Regions from separate parts of the Homo sapiens genome. Here region 2 is linked to region 1. Evidence: promoter capture Hi-C in human tissues and cell types (Jung and others, 2019). All regions are on one chromosome and are shown on one strand. The core of a region is centred on a gene start or on the middle of the fragment in contact, and the rest is flanking DNA. Distances in the headings are between cores, read along the strand shown.

What was found. The method cuts DNA at HindIII sites, captures the fragments that hold promoters and counts their contacts. A contact is called where the count stands out against the background at its distance.
Region 2: a fragment that was not itself captured here is called in contact with the fragment with the promoter of MLPH in region 1 in 1 of the 25 tissues and cell types used here (IMR-90 fibroblasts).

Annotation. Positions count from the first base shown.
Region 1 is chr2:237,484,873-237,490,732 of GRCh38, reverse strand. MLPH (melanophilin) reads right to left here and starts at 3,482. Exons shown (of 16, transcript NM_024101.7): 1 at 3,296-3,482. LOC105373957 (a long non-coding RNA gene) reads left to right here and starts at 3,585. Exons shown (of 2, transcript XR_001739962.2): 1 at 3,585-3,922; 2 at 4,012-5,033. RefSeq lists a silencer at 153-447 and an enhancer at 3,647-4,615. The HindIII fragment of the contact is 7,222 bases long and covers 2,505-5,860 here.
Region 2 is chr2:237,341,473-237,348,159 of GRCh38, reverse strand. COL6A3 (collagen type VI alpha 3 chain) reads left to right here. Exons shown (of 44, transcript NM_004369.4): 31 at 291-353; 32 at 1,595-1,657; 33 at 2,947-2,979; 34 at 3,066-3,102; 35 at 3,208-3,219; 36 at 3,317-3,810; 37 at 5,999-6,095. Among named protein-coding and RNA genes, the nearest start is that of COL6A3, 69 kb to the left of the region's middle. The HindIII fragment of the contact is 6,001 bases long and covers 2,379-6,687 here.

The sequences.
Region 1 (5,860 bases), core at 2,233-4,732:
TGATGCATGACTGGAGTTCATTCACTTTTATTTTTCATGAGTTCTGAAAAAAAAGGGATCATAAGAAGAGCATTCACCGACATTCTATTTTCAGAATGGATGGACAGTGTGACCATCAGCTGAGGCATTATCATTCCCTCTCTTCTCCTAACATAGAAGCCAAAATTCCAGGCCTCAGTTTGAGAAACTTAAATCATGATGTGTGAGGAAGAAAAGCAAAACAAAAGGAAAAACCTGCTTTTCTTGTCTTGCAAGCTTCACATTCTTAGAGCACAGTCAGTGACCAGGAAGTGAATGGATAAAAAGATCACAGAGCATCACAACCAATGTCCTAGAGGCTGCTTGGATATCTGTCCCTCCCCCATTCTATCCCCTTTCAAATGGTTTTCTTTCTTTTTTTTTTTTAGATGAGGTCCTGGTCTGTCGCTCAGGCTGCAGTGCGATAGTGCAATCATGGCTCACTGCTGCCTCGACCTCCATGGGCTCAGGGAGGTGAGGGCAGAGAATATGCTAGACCCATGAGGAGTGCAGGGCTGCTCTGTGCCTGCCCTAGCTGGGTGGGGTGGGGGCTCCCAGAGTATGTGCTGGGGGAGGGCAGACGCCACCCTGCTCTATCTGCTCCTTGTTCCATTTCTGTTTAGATAACGCCTGCTCACGAGGTTCCTGAACAAAACACTTCCACTTACTGCCTGTTCCACTGCTCAGATTCGATCATATTTTAAACATTGGAGACAGCCAGCCTTCCCCAGCAGTTGAATAGCCATAGTGGGGCAGAGGGACGGGACACAGGGATTAATAGGCAGGGAGGAGAGAGTGGAGCTGGTTTTATAAGATGGGTATCCCAGGCCCAGACTGCTGAATTCCAGTAGTGTGTCATCTTTATCCGCTAAAGAGTTGAATTAATTTTTTGGCCAAATTGAAGGGAAATCAGGGTGGGGGTTCCTCCTGGATGAAGAATTGGCTTAACTAGCTCTTGGGCTGGCTGCTTGGGGAGCCTTGGAACAATGGTGATTGTGGGTGATTACTCGCCTGGGCAAACAAACTGGCAAGCTAACAACAGCAGGAATGCTCTCTCTGACTCAGAGCCAAGGTGTGTCGTGTGGTGTTATTCTTGCTGATAAAGGGGAGGTGGCAGAGATGACAACTGTAGTGCCCTCTGCCTTAATCCTTTGTGGCTGTTTCCCGAATGCTGCCGTCCAGGTCAGCCTGTATGGTTATTTCTATAGGTGGGGCCCATCAGTAGGCACTGACCCCCAGCTCTCATCAGTGGCTAAATGAGCACATTTCCACCTAGAAGGGCCACTCCCTTCCCTACAAGTGAACCAGGCACATCTGTGCTGTAGCCACAAGGGTCTGGAATGGCCCCAGCAGCAACAGCACTGGGAGGGTGTTCTGCCCCTCAGCCACCTGCCCACCAACTTGCCATCCCCTCTGCTCTCCCAGTTCTCTGGGGAGTTGGTGGTAAACCTCATTTATAAATGGACATGAGTTCTGCATTTACACCTAAAGCCTCAGTGCTAGTCTCTACCGCAAGGATGGGTCCCAGGTGAGGCTGTAGGAGGATGGTGCTGAGAGGTGGGAGCTGGGTTCCCATCCCAGTTCAGGCACAGCCAGCCCAGCCACCTGGGAAAGATGCCCCTCCTCTCAGGGTCTTAGTTTCCCCATCTGTACCATGGACAATGGCTGAGCTCCAAGACCTCTCTGGCCCTCTCCAGCCCTGGATGATGCCAGGATGTTGAAATTAAGAGGGGGAGTGATGGTGTGGGGGTAGTGGGGAGGAGTAGGGGCAAAGACTGTTCCTCCAGAGGTTGCTTCTGAAAAGAACAAGACAGTTGGCCCTAGAAGGCTGCCCCAACCACTGAGACTGGGGCTTATTTGAGCCGTTATTGCATTGTGGTTGAAAGGCACCAATTTCACTTTTCCCATTAGCCCACAGGGCTCTGGGACACTTCCACCACCTCCAGCCCCTCACTGGGCACACATTCAGCTGGTTTGTTTTAATTTTTTTCTGAGTCACTCATGTCGTACTCAGTAAGACCCACTGACTCCCCATGTGTGTGCCGGGCACCATCCCATGTTCTCTAAATGTGTCCTCAGTCAATCCTCTGAGGCACCTGCTACTGTTCTTAGAGCCTGAGTGAGGGCCAGGAGCACAGTGACCCATGCCTGGTACTTAGATACTAAGGAGCACGGTCCTGGGCAGGGAGGGGGCTGGGCCCAGGAAGGCTGAGGCCTTACTGAGGTCAGCTGAATCCCGCCAATGAGCAGGTGGAGGGATGTGTTTCCTAGGACAGATGCAGGCCAGCTGGAGGGATGGGTTTCCTAGGACAGATGCAGGCCAGCTGGAGGGATGGGTTTCCTAGGACAGATGCAGGACAGCTGAACCCGGGGTGTCAATGTCACTGCTCAGCAACGCGGTCTGCAAGTCCAGAAGCCTTTTCCTGAGACTTCACAGCCCCCAGCAATGCTGGCCTTTGCACCTATTGGGAGCCTTGCTCTCCCCCGACTGTCATTTCACTCCCTCAGAAAGAAATAAGTGAAGAAGATACCAGTCACACCATCTAAAAAAGGACCTGTCCCAAGTTCCGTGTGGAAGTGAGGTGGAGTTTCCAGTGCCAGTTAATGTCAGTGGGACGCGGTGTCTAAGCCCGGGGAAGGGATTTACAAGTGAGATTCCGTTCCTGTAGGGACTTGGGGCTAGTAGGGACGAAGCCCACAGGTGCTCACAGCTCACAGACCCTTCCCACATCTCTACTTCCCACACCTCCCTGGTGGGCCCAGGGAGTCTGTCTGCAAACAAAAGGTGATTCCAATAAAACAGACTTTTAGACGCCCAGAGGAAGCCAGGTGCCTCCTCCCAGGCCAAGATCATCTGGCCTCTTCCTCACCCCAAGACCAGCTCCTGGGCTGGGAGGAAACCTTTCCCCTGGGGCCAGCCTACTTGGCATCAGCAGCCTTGGCCCAGTCTGCATGGCAGACTCGCAATGGAGGCAATGGAGCTTCTGATTAAAACCAACCGTTTTGCCCAAAATGGGGATCCCCCGCCATCCCACTCCCACCCGTGCCTGCACCCAGAGCAGTCTGCTCAAAGAATCCAGGTGAAGCCTGGGGGACTAAGGCTGGGTGGCTGGGAACGCGCTGTCCTCACCAGCCTGGACCGAGGCCGGGAGGCTGGCGGCTGGGGGCGTTTTCACACCAGTGGGTCTGCACGCGACACCGCGCACCCCCCAAAGCCTAAGCCCCGAGTCCTGGGCGCCACCCTGGCCCCGCTGTTCCCTCTTCTCAGTGCACTCACCGGACCCTCTCCGGGGGACGCTCAGTCCCTGGTCCAGCACCTGGGAGAGAAAGGAGGCGACGAAGCAGGGCGTCAGGCCAGGGCGTCAGGTCAGGGCGCCGGGGCAAGGCTGGATAATGGGGGCAAGCAGGGCGCGGGGCGCAGAGCGGCTGGTTAGCGCCTGGCTCTCCGGGGCAGGCGGGCAACTGGCCACGTCCCGGCGCCTCCCGCCCGAACCACGTGGGCTGCGCCCCGCTCCGCCCAGCTCCGGGAGCGCGGACACCTCTGGATGCCCTGCCAGGCAGAGGGCGGAACGGAACGGACACCTGGGGCGCCCGCGCGGGAAGCGCCAGTGCGGGGGAGAGCCCCGGATACTCGACCCCCAAGCCAGTTTGGGGAGAAAGACGGCGGCGGGGAGGGGAAAGTTGAGCACACAGCTGCGATTCCCGTGAGTTGCGGCGACTTTGCATAGGTGACATCGCGCCGCGGTCCTGCCTTGGGCACGGTGGGACCCGCTTGCTGAGCGCGCTCTAGAGCGCGCGGCACATCGTCGAAATTTCTAACTCTGCAGGGAAAGCGCTATGTACTTCGGCTTTACAAATGGGGAAACTGAGGCTCAGAAACGCGCCCTACCAAAGCCACCGACCAGTAAGTGGCAACGCCAAATAATAAATAGGACTTTAAGCCCAGGGCTTTCTGCTGCAGAGAGCGTACCCTCACCCCTTCGATTCTGCCAGGCATCAGGACCAGGAGGGTCCCGCAGCCGCGGGCAGCCCTGCTGCGGGGAGGAGACCGAGGCCTTGCCCGCCAAGAAAAAGTCAAGATCCGCGGGCAAATGGGGCAGATGTGGAAGCCAGGACGCGCGGCGCGGTGGTTCCAGGACCGAGGACGCGCTGCGGGGAACGCCTGGGAGCTCCGCGCCGCTGCGCTCTTCTCCTGGACTCTAGGGCCGGCCTTTGGGTGCTCAGCGGGGCCCGCAAGCTCAGAGGGTCCCAAGGCGAGCCGCCGTCTCCAGTCCGCCCGGCCTGCCTGTCCTTCCGAATTCCAATGGACATTAGGGAATTGCCCTCCTCCCTCATCCTCCAAGACTGGGCGCTTCAGAATTTTCTCTCCCTCCCCCTCCCTCTCCCTTGTCACTTAAAAACTCACATTCTGTTCTCCAGGAACCGCTTTTGCAATTCAGTTTTCCTATCTGCAAAATGATAGGAATAAAGCCATTAGGTGAATGAATAGATACTAGTATCTCCATTTAACAGAAGAGGAATCAAAACCTTATAGGATTGTTGTGATATCACATTAGATTATTTGTAAACAGCTTTCAAAAGGCTGCAAAAGAACAAAAAAGAATGTTGTTGCCTGCTGAGCCCAGGGGAACACTGTAGGTGAATCAGGGTATTTCAGGCCCCTGGGCTGCTTTGAGACAGGTGCTCTTACCAAACACCATCAATTGTTGAGTGTGAACCCTGGAATAGAGTGAAGCTTACACTGAAGCCAGTATTTCCACATCCCATATGATCTGGTGCTTATGTTTTTCATTTCCTTACCTCCTTGCCATATACTTTACTGTTACTTGTTAAGATTAATAAATCCCTTAAGAGTTGATGTAGGGACTTAAGTTCCTTAAGGGCAGAAGTTTTTAAAAATGTTTTTAATACTTTAGTGCTTATTTATTTGAAGTAGTGGTTTTAAAAAATATACAACTGACACACGCTGATATATAAGGTATATAGTAAAGAATATAAGGAGTATAAAATGAAAAGCCAAATTCTCTCTTATTCCATTACTAACCTCCATGACCAGAAAGCAATCATTATTAATGGTGTCTTCTATATTCTTTCTGAATGGTGTGTGTGTGTGTGAGGTTAAGCATGTGGGCTCAAACCAACTGCAAGAGTCGGAATTCCAACTAGGAGTGTGGCCCACAAGCTGTGTCATCTTGGACCTGTTACTGAATCTTCTACTGACTTTTTTCTCTCTTCTCCATGATGAGAATAGTAATGGGAGTTACACATAAGGGTGTTGTGAATCAATATCCCTGCAGCTTGGGTGAGACACCATGTGGTGAGTGCTTGGTAAATATTAATTACTATTCCTGTTGATCTACTTCATCCTTTTTTGGTTGCAGAGTATCCAATGTGTGAGTTACCATAATTACTTACCAGTCTTCTATTGATGGACAGTTAATTTTTGATTTTTTGCTATTTAAATGATTCTGCCATAAATATCATCCTAGATAATTCTTATTGACACCTATCATACATAGGATGACACATGAATATCATTGTACATACATACTGATATATCTGTAGACTAAAAGCCTATAGATTTGGATTTTCTGAGTCAAAGGATGTATACAATTTTAAGAGAAAATTCTAGAATTATAAACTTTTTTTTTTTTTTTTAATGGAGATGGAATCTTGCTCTGTTGCCAGGCTGGAGTGCAGTGGCTTGATCTCGGCTTACTGCAACGTCTGCCTCCCGGGTTCAAGCAATTCTCCTGCCTCAGCCTCCCCAGTAGCTGGAACTACAGACGCACACCACCACTAATTTTTGTATTTTTAGTAGAGACGGGGTTTCACCATGTTG
Region 2 (6,687 bases), core at 4,130-6,629, 140 kb after region 1:
TTGTCCTGGTGTTTATGAGATTTAAATAAAATATGCTGCAATCAAAGTACTCTGTAAGCTGTGAAATGCTATAACCTACATGATAGTATCATTACTGATTAATTAAATTAAGACCATCTGCAAATACCACAAATATAGTAGTAACCCACTGGAAAAGTGAATCAAAACTAACCACTTGGCTGCCCGGGAAAAGTGTGACCCACACGTCTCCTGGATGTCTTACCCCACGGACCCTCAGTGAGATCTTCTGTTCCAAAGCTTACTGTGCCACTTCTCGGCTTTCTTCCCAGGGTAACCCAGGTGAACCTGGGCTAAATGGAACAACAGGACCCAAAGGCATCAGAGGCCGAAGGGTAAGTTTGCGTGGGCCTTGGCTGCAGGTGAGGAATGAGAACGTATGTCTCAATGTGATTAACTGCTGAGGCTTTGACAATTATCCTTCACTTGCACCCTGGCCAGGGATAGCACAGGGTGGAAGGAAGGGAATCCTGAGCCCCAGACCAATGTCCTCAGGGTGCCACCATGGCTGTGGTCCATGGCTCTCCTCCTGTAGGTGTATTCCTCTTCCTCCAACTCACCTCCAGGGTCGCCAGCCCAGCTCACTCCAGGCACAGCACCCACCTGCAGTCTCGAATCTCATTATGGGTGACTGGGAAGTCTGTGCAGTCACTTTGGGCCATGCCCACCCAGACGGCCAGGCAATGGGAGTGAATGAGGCATGGCAACTGCTTCTGAAGCCTCTAGGCTTGCAAGCGAGCCAGGCCAAGGCCATGGGCTCCTCAGACTACTGGTGCTGAGATTCCTCTTCCTTAAGCTACTTTTAGCCCTGATAGCTCTTTTCTTTTTATTCTTTGTGTGTGTGTGTGTGTGACAAGGTCTCACTCTGTTGCCAAGGTCTCAGTCTGTCATCTGGGCGGAGTGCAGTGGTGCCATCTTGGCTCACTGCAACCTCCATCTCCTGGGATCAAGCGATCCTCCCACCTCAGCCTCCCAAAGTGCTGGGATTACATGCATGAGACACCACACCTGGCCAGATTATTCTTCAATGGATGTTTACTCACCCTCTTAAAATGGCAGAGTCTTCAATTAGCAAATTGTGGCCTAGATCTGTGTAAAGGTTGCTAACAGTTATTTTCAGCCTGAAATGTAGTTTAAAAAGAAACATAATTATCTTATTAATTTGATCAGTGAAGACAGTCAAACTAGATCATTTAATATCCCAAAGAGCTTTAAAACATTGGATGATTATCTACACTGAACGCATTAGCTAATTCACTGTCTGTTACCTATTCTCCTGGGAGTCCTTAGTAATCATATTAGTGGTTCTTGGGAAAGCACCTGTCTTACCTTAGCCTGGCAGAGAACACAATATACAACACCTCTATAGTTGGTGGGGGACTCCCATTGGCTTTGTTGAGGTTGCTTGTCCCTAAACTTGAATTTAAGAGACATTTTAGCTCCCTTAAAGTGAGAGATTTTTCGTGGTGATGGAGTCCCTTGGGTTAGATCACTTTTACCGTACCTTCCAACTATAGGAGCCTTAAATTCTCCACTTTCTGACACAGTTGAACAATGTTTGTTCTGCTCCCTCTAGGGAAATTCGGGACCTCCAGGGATAGTTGGACAGAAGGGAGACCCTGGCTACCCAGGACCAGCTGTAAGTATTTATCCAGTTCTGACCCGGCCACCTGGGGCTGGGTGCTTTACACGTGGTCCCTGAAAACTTCCCACCATCTGCTTTGCTCACAAGAAAATGTGCTCTCTTTGTATTTGCTTGGTTGTCAAACCGCCTCTCTGACATCATGATGCAGCAAAGAGATTTTGAATTTTAGAGTAACAAGAAACTTTAAAAAAATAGGTTTCATGGGATATCCTGTCATCTAGGGAGTATTGTAATTTGCCTTTATAGTTTCCTGGCATAGGTGCATTTGAGGTTTGTGTAGAGGAGAAACCAAAGAGGGGAAATCTAAATACCTTTTGCTTGCATCTTGTAGAAGCAGTGTAATTATGCCAGGCCTTGGTTTGACAATGCTTCCTGTGGTCTATGAAATCCCCAAGGGAGCTCCTGATTTGTGGTTAAATCCCACTAGTCATGCTGCCACCAGGAGCCAGGAGGGCATCCTCCCACAGCCCTTCCAAACCTCTTTATTGCTAATACCTTTGTTTTCTTATTTGAATTTCTCCATATATTGTCCCTCAATATTGAAATTGGTGAGTTTCAAAAAATAATGGAAAAGATAATTCAGGAGTTGGAAAATCATTCCTAGAAGGAAAGGTTCAGGGCTTAGTTTGGTTGAATTAGGGAAAAGAAAGCTGGTCAGGTGGGTCTGATTGCTGTCTTTAAGTAGGTGAAGTGTTGGGGGGAGCACATTAAGCCAGTTCCTGCAGAAGACCAAGCAGGCAGAAATAGCCTCCTGGAAAGACAACTAATGGCCCATGAGATGCCTGCTGGGCTGTCAGGGTGGTGAGGTTTAGGCATGGGACACTGAGGGAAGCCACGAGTCAGTCCCTAGAGCTCCTCGGGGTGGAATTCAGCTGGGATGCTTTAGACACGGAGGGAGCCAGGGCAGCTCAATGATCTCTCACTGCCCCTTCGGCAGGGGACAGCGTATCAAGCGTGTGAAAGGGAGCTCTTTTCTCAAGAGAAGCAGAATCTAGACCCAGGTTCACTCGTGGGCTTTACATGGATTGGTGGTGAGCTTCCTGGTTTCAGAACATGAGACTATTTCAAAGGCCAAATGACCTCCCAGGGAAACACATTTGCTCCAGAATCTTCTCTTTTTTGCTTTGCAAGGGATAAGATCAGGTTTAGAGGGAGAGGCTGTAAACAATCAAGGTTATCCAGGGGCCCCTTTGTCTTGCTCTGTGTATTTCTGGGGGCCAAAGCCTGTTTATTCGAATTCCCCATCTGCTGTGCCTCTCACCTTTCGTTCCTTGGTTTTACAGGGTCCCAAGGGCAACAGGGGCGACTCCATCGATGTAAGTTGCATGTGTCCAGAATGACTCATTAACCTCATGAGCCTTTGATTTGCTCTCTTTACATATTCTTTTATTTTCTTTTAAAGCAATGTGCCCTCATCCAAAGCATCAAAGATAAATGCCGTAAGTACATGATTTTCTGTTGTCTCACAATGCATATTTTTACATTCGAAATTCTCACATGGTAGAGTAGTCTCTCACCCTTTCTTCTCTTTGCTTCTTTTCTAGCTTGCTGTTACGGTAAGTTGATTTTGGTGACTTTCTCCTAAGGAAAGGAAGCCTCCCTTTTGTAGTAAGTACAGTTTGTCTTTAACCCTCCACCCTCTACTTTCCACAGGGCCCCTGGAGTGCCCCGTCTTCCCAACAGAACTAGCCTTTGCTTTAGACACCTCTGAGGGAGTCAACCAAGACACTTTCGGCCGGATGCGAGATGTGGTCTTGAGTATTGTGAATGACCTGACCATTGCTGAGAGCAACTGCCCACGGGGGGCCCGGGTGGCTGTGGTCACCTACAACAACGAGGTGACCACGGAGATCCGGTTTGCTGACTCCAAGAGGAAGTCGGTCCTCCTGGACAAGATTAAGAACCTTCAGGTGGCTCTGACATCCAAACAGCAGAGTCTGGAGACTGCCATGTCGTTTGTGGCCAGGAACACATTTAAGCGTGTGAGGAACGGATTCCTAATGAGGAAAGTGGCTGTTTTCTTCAGCAACACACCCACAAGAGCATCCCCACAGCTCAGAGAGGCTGTGCTCAAGCTCTCAGATGCGGGGATCACCCCCTTGTTCCTTACAAGGCAGGAAGACCGGCAGCTCATCAACGCTTTGCAGGTCTGTGCTCTGTGCGTGCTGTTGGCATCTCCCTTTCTTCTGGGGCTCTGAGAAGGTTCTCAGACACGTCCATGCTCCTTTGTGGCTTCATGTCCCATAGCTCCTAAAACGTCCCCAATGAGGCCATCTGCCTGAGAACTTCTCTTGTGAGGTCTCCAGGACAACCTCGTGGCTCCAGCACTACAGGGACGCCTACATGCTTGTAGCACTGCCCCCAGGTCCCTCCTCACATGTTGACAGCTCTTGCCGGTTAGTGATGCTAGTGTTGGTGACACTCTCTATCTACTAACAAGGTGGTGTGACTTGTTTGCTTTATTCATGAGGACCTGGACGTTTGCATCCTTCCTGTCTCCTCCCAAGATGGCCCCCTGTGCACACTCTGAGCTGTGTCTTACTGTGTACTGGGCATTTGCTTCCCATAACTGGCTGGTGAGGTTTGTATCATCAGTCTCACCTCATGGATAGGAAGATCCTGCTGTTAGTGAGGTGCTCGTGAGAGGCTAGGACCCTAGTCCATTAGACTCTGAAACCCATGTGCTGATGATACCCATTCCAGTCTCCACTCTGTCCCAATCGGCCCTGAAGGTGAATATCCAGGGTGGCCCTGGAGGCCTGTAGTCTCTCAGTGAGGTCCCCAAAACTATGCCGACTCAGCACCCCCAATCTACACCACACCACTGTGCAAAGCTTTCTTCAGTGAGGCCCCAAGGGTCAGCCCACGGAGAGGCCAAGTGTCGCTTGTAATTCTATTAAATAACTGGTTTAATTGTGTGTTTTTTTTTTTTTTTTTTTTTTTTTTTTTTTTTTTTTTTTTTTTTTTTTTTTTTTTTTTTTTGAGACAGAGTCTTGCTCTGTCACCCAGGCTGGAGTGCAATGGCGTGATCTCGGCTCACTGCAACCTCCACCTTCCAGTTTTAAGTGATTCTCCTGCTTCAGCCTCCTGAGTAGCTGGGATTACAGGCACTCGCCACCATGCCTGGCTAATTTTTGTATTTTTCTTTCTTTTTTTTTTTTTTAGTAGAGACGGGGGTTTCACCATATTGGTCAGACTGGTCTCGAACTCCTGACCACGTGATCTGCCTGCCTCGGCCTCCCAAAGTGCTGGGGTTACAGGCGTAAGCCACCGCACCCAGACAACTAGTTTAATTCTTACATCAATTAATATTTATTCAGTGCAGTTCTGGCGATACTGTTCAAGACAGATGGGTGATGGGTAGGAAGGAGTCCACCCGGGAGTCAGGAGGCCTTGGCCTGGTTCCACACTCCCCCCACCCATTTAAAGTAATGTGCACGCCACTTAGCGTCCCTGCGTCTCAGATTTTTCACCTGTAAATTGAGACTGGGGCAGGATGATTGCTAATGTCTTTCCTTCCACATTGGATATTCTATGCTTTTACCACAGCCTGTGTCGGCGAAAGACATTGGGTCATCACTGCCATTCCTCAGGGCTTGTTCTGCCGAACACAGGATGATTTGTGCATAGAGCGCTGGGCTTGGGAATTCAGTGTTGAAGTTGGGCTACCGGCCATGTGCTCTTGATGGGGGGATTCATTCACATAAGTCTGTCCTTGTGTGGGCTGAGGGACCCAGAACCACGTGAGTTTCTTAGCATGGTTTCAACGAGATCAAAAAATTGTTCATTCATTAATTATTTGCTCATTCATTCATTCAAACTAGCTATTTGTTAAATGAATAATTACTAATCGTGTGCCAGGTACGGCGATAGACAGGACTCTTTGCACCCACTGGGAGTGATTTTGTTACTTGCTTTAACCACACCTGAGAGGGTGGGGAAGGGATGGAGCTCCCATATTGTTGCTAAAAATAACGATAAGATTAAGTTCCTACTATTTGCCAGAGGATACACCAGTTACTAACATTTATTATCTAATTTAACCCTCCAAATGACACCATTAGGAAGGTATTACCCCCCATTTTACAGCTGAAAAAAACTGAAACCCATTTGAACGGGATATGAACTCCAGCTCACCCTAGTAGAATAAAACCTATGTCTTTCTATTATACTCAGAGCCTAACCCCACCCCCAAATGAGAAGATATTCCCAATACTGCCCTATTGGGAAGTTAATCTATTTTATTGATGTAGCTTTGATTTACTCCTCTGCCATATTTTCAGATATTACTGATCATGTACGCCCCTACCAAAATTGTTCTTTTGTTTAAACCAGATCAATAACACAGCAGTGGGGCATGCGCTTGTCCTGCCTGCAGGGAGAGACCTCACAGACTTCCTGGAGAATGTCCTCACGTGTCATGTTTGCTTGGGTAAGCTGTTTCTCTAACAGGAAGATCTGCTCAGCTGCAATTGCAAAACATAATATCCATGGGAGAGTGAGAGAATAATGATGATCTGTAAAAAGAGCTTGAGTTCAATTGATTCACAAAGCCTCGTATTTACCAGAGTAAATACTACTGCAGCAGTTTCTATATTAAAAATGGACCTCCCAAAACAGAGCTTCTCTTTGATGGCGGATAATTCATTTTATAGGTAACAAAGGAGGAGGCAGTTTCTGCTTAAGTTTTGACATTAGAATCTAGAATGAAAACATTGGCACTAGTGACTTTCTAGAACATATTTCTTCAAAGAGTGGCAGAGAAGTAATATAATTTTTCATTTCTTTTAAAAATGCCAGCACATGGTATGCTACAAAGATTTTAGGTTAGTGATTTGTTTCATCTACTAAGTATTAGGTGATAGAAACTGAAATCTGGCCATAATCAAATCAAGGCAAGATATAAATTGGTTTTGGTTGTGATGTTTTTTTTTTTTTTTTTTTTTTTTTTTTAGACAGAGTCTTGCTCTTGTTGCCCAGGCTGGAGTGCAGTGGCACAATCTTGGCTCACTGCAACCTCTGCT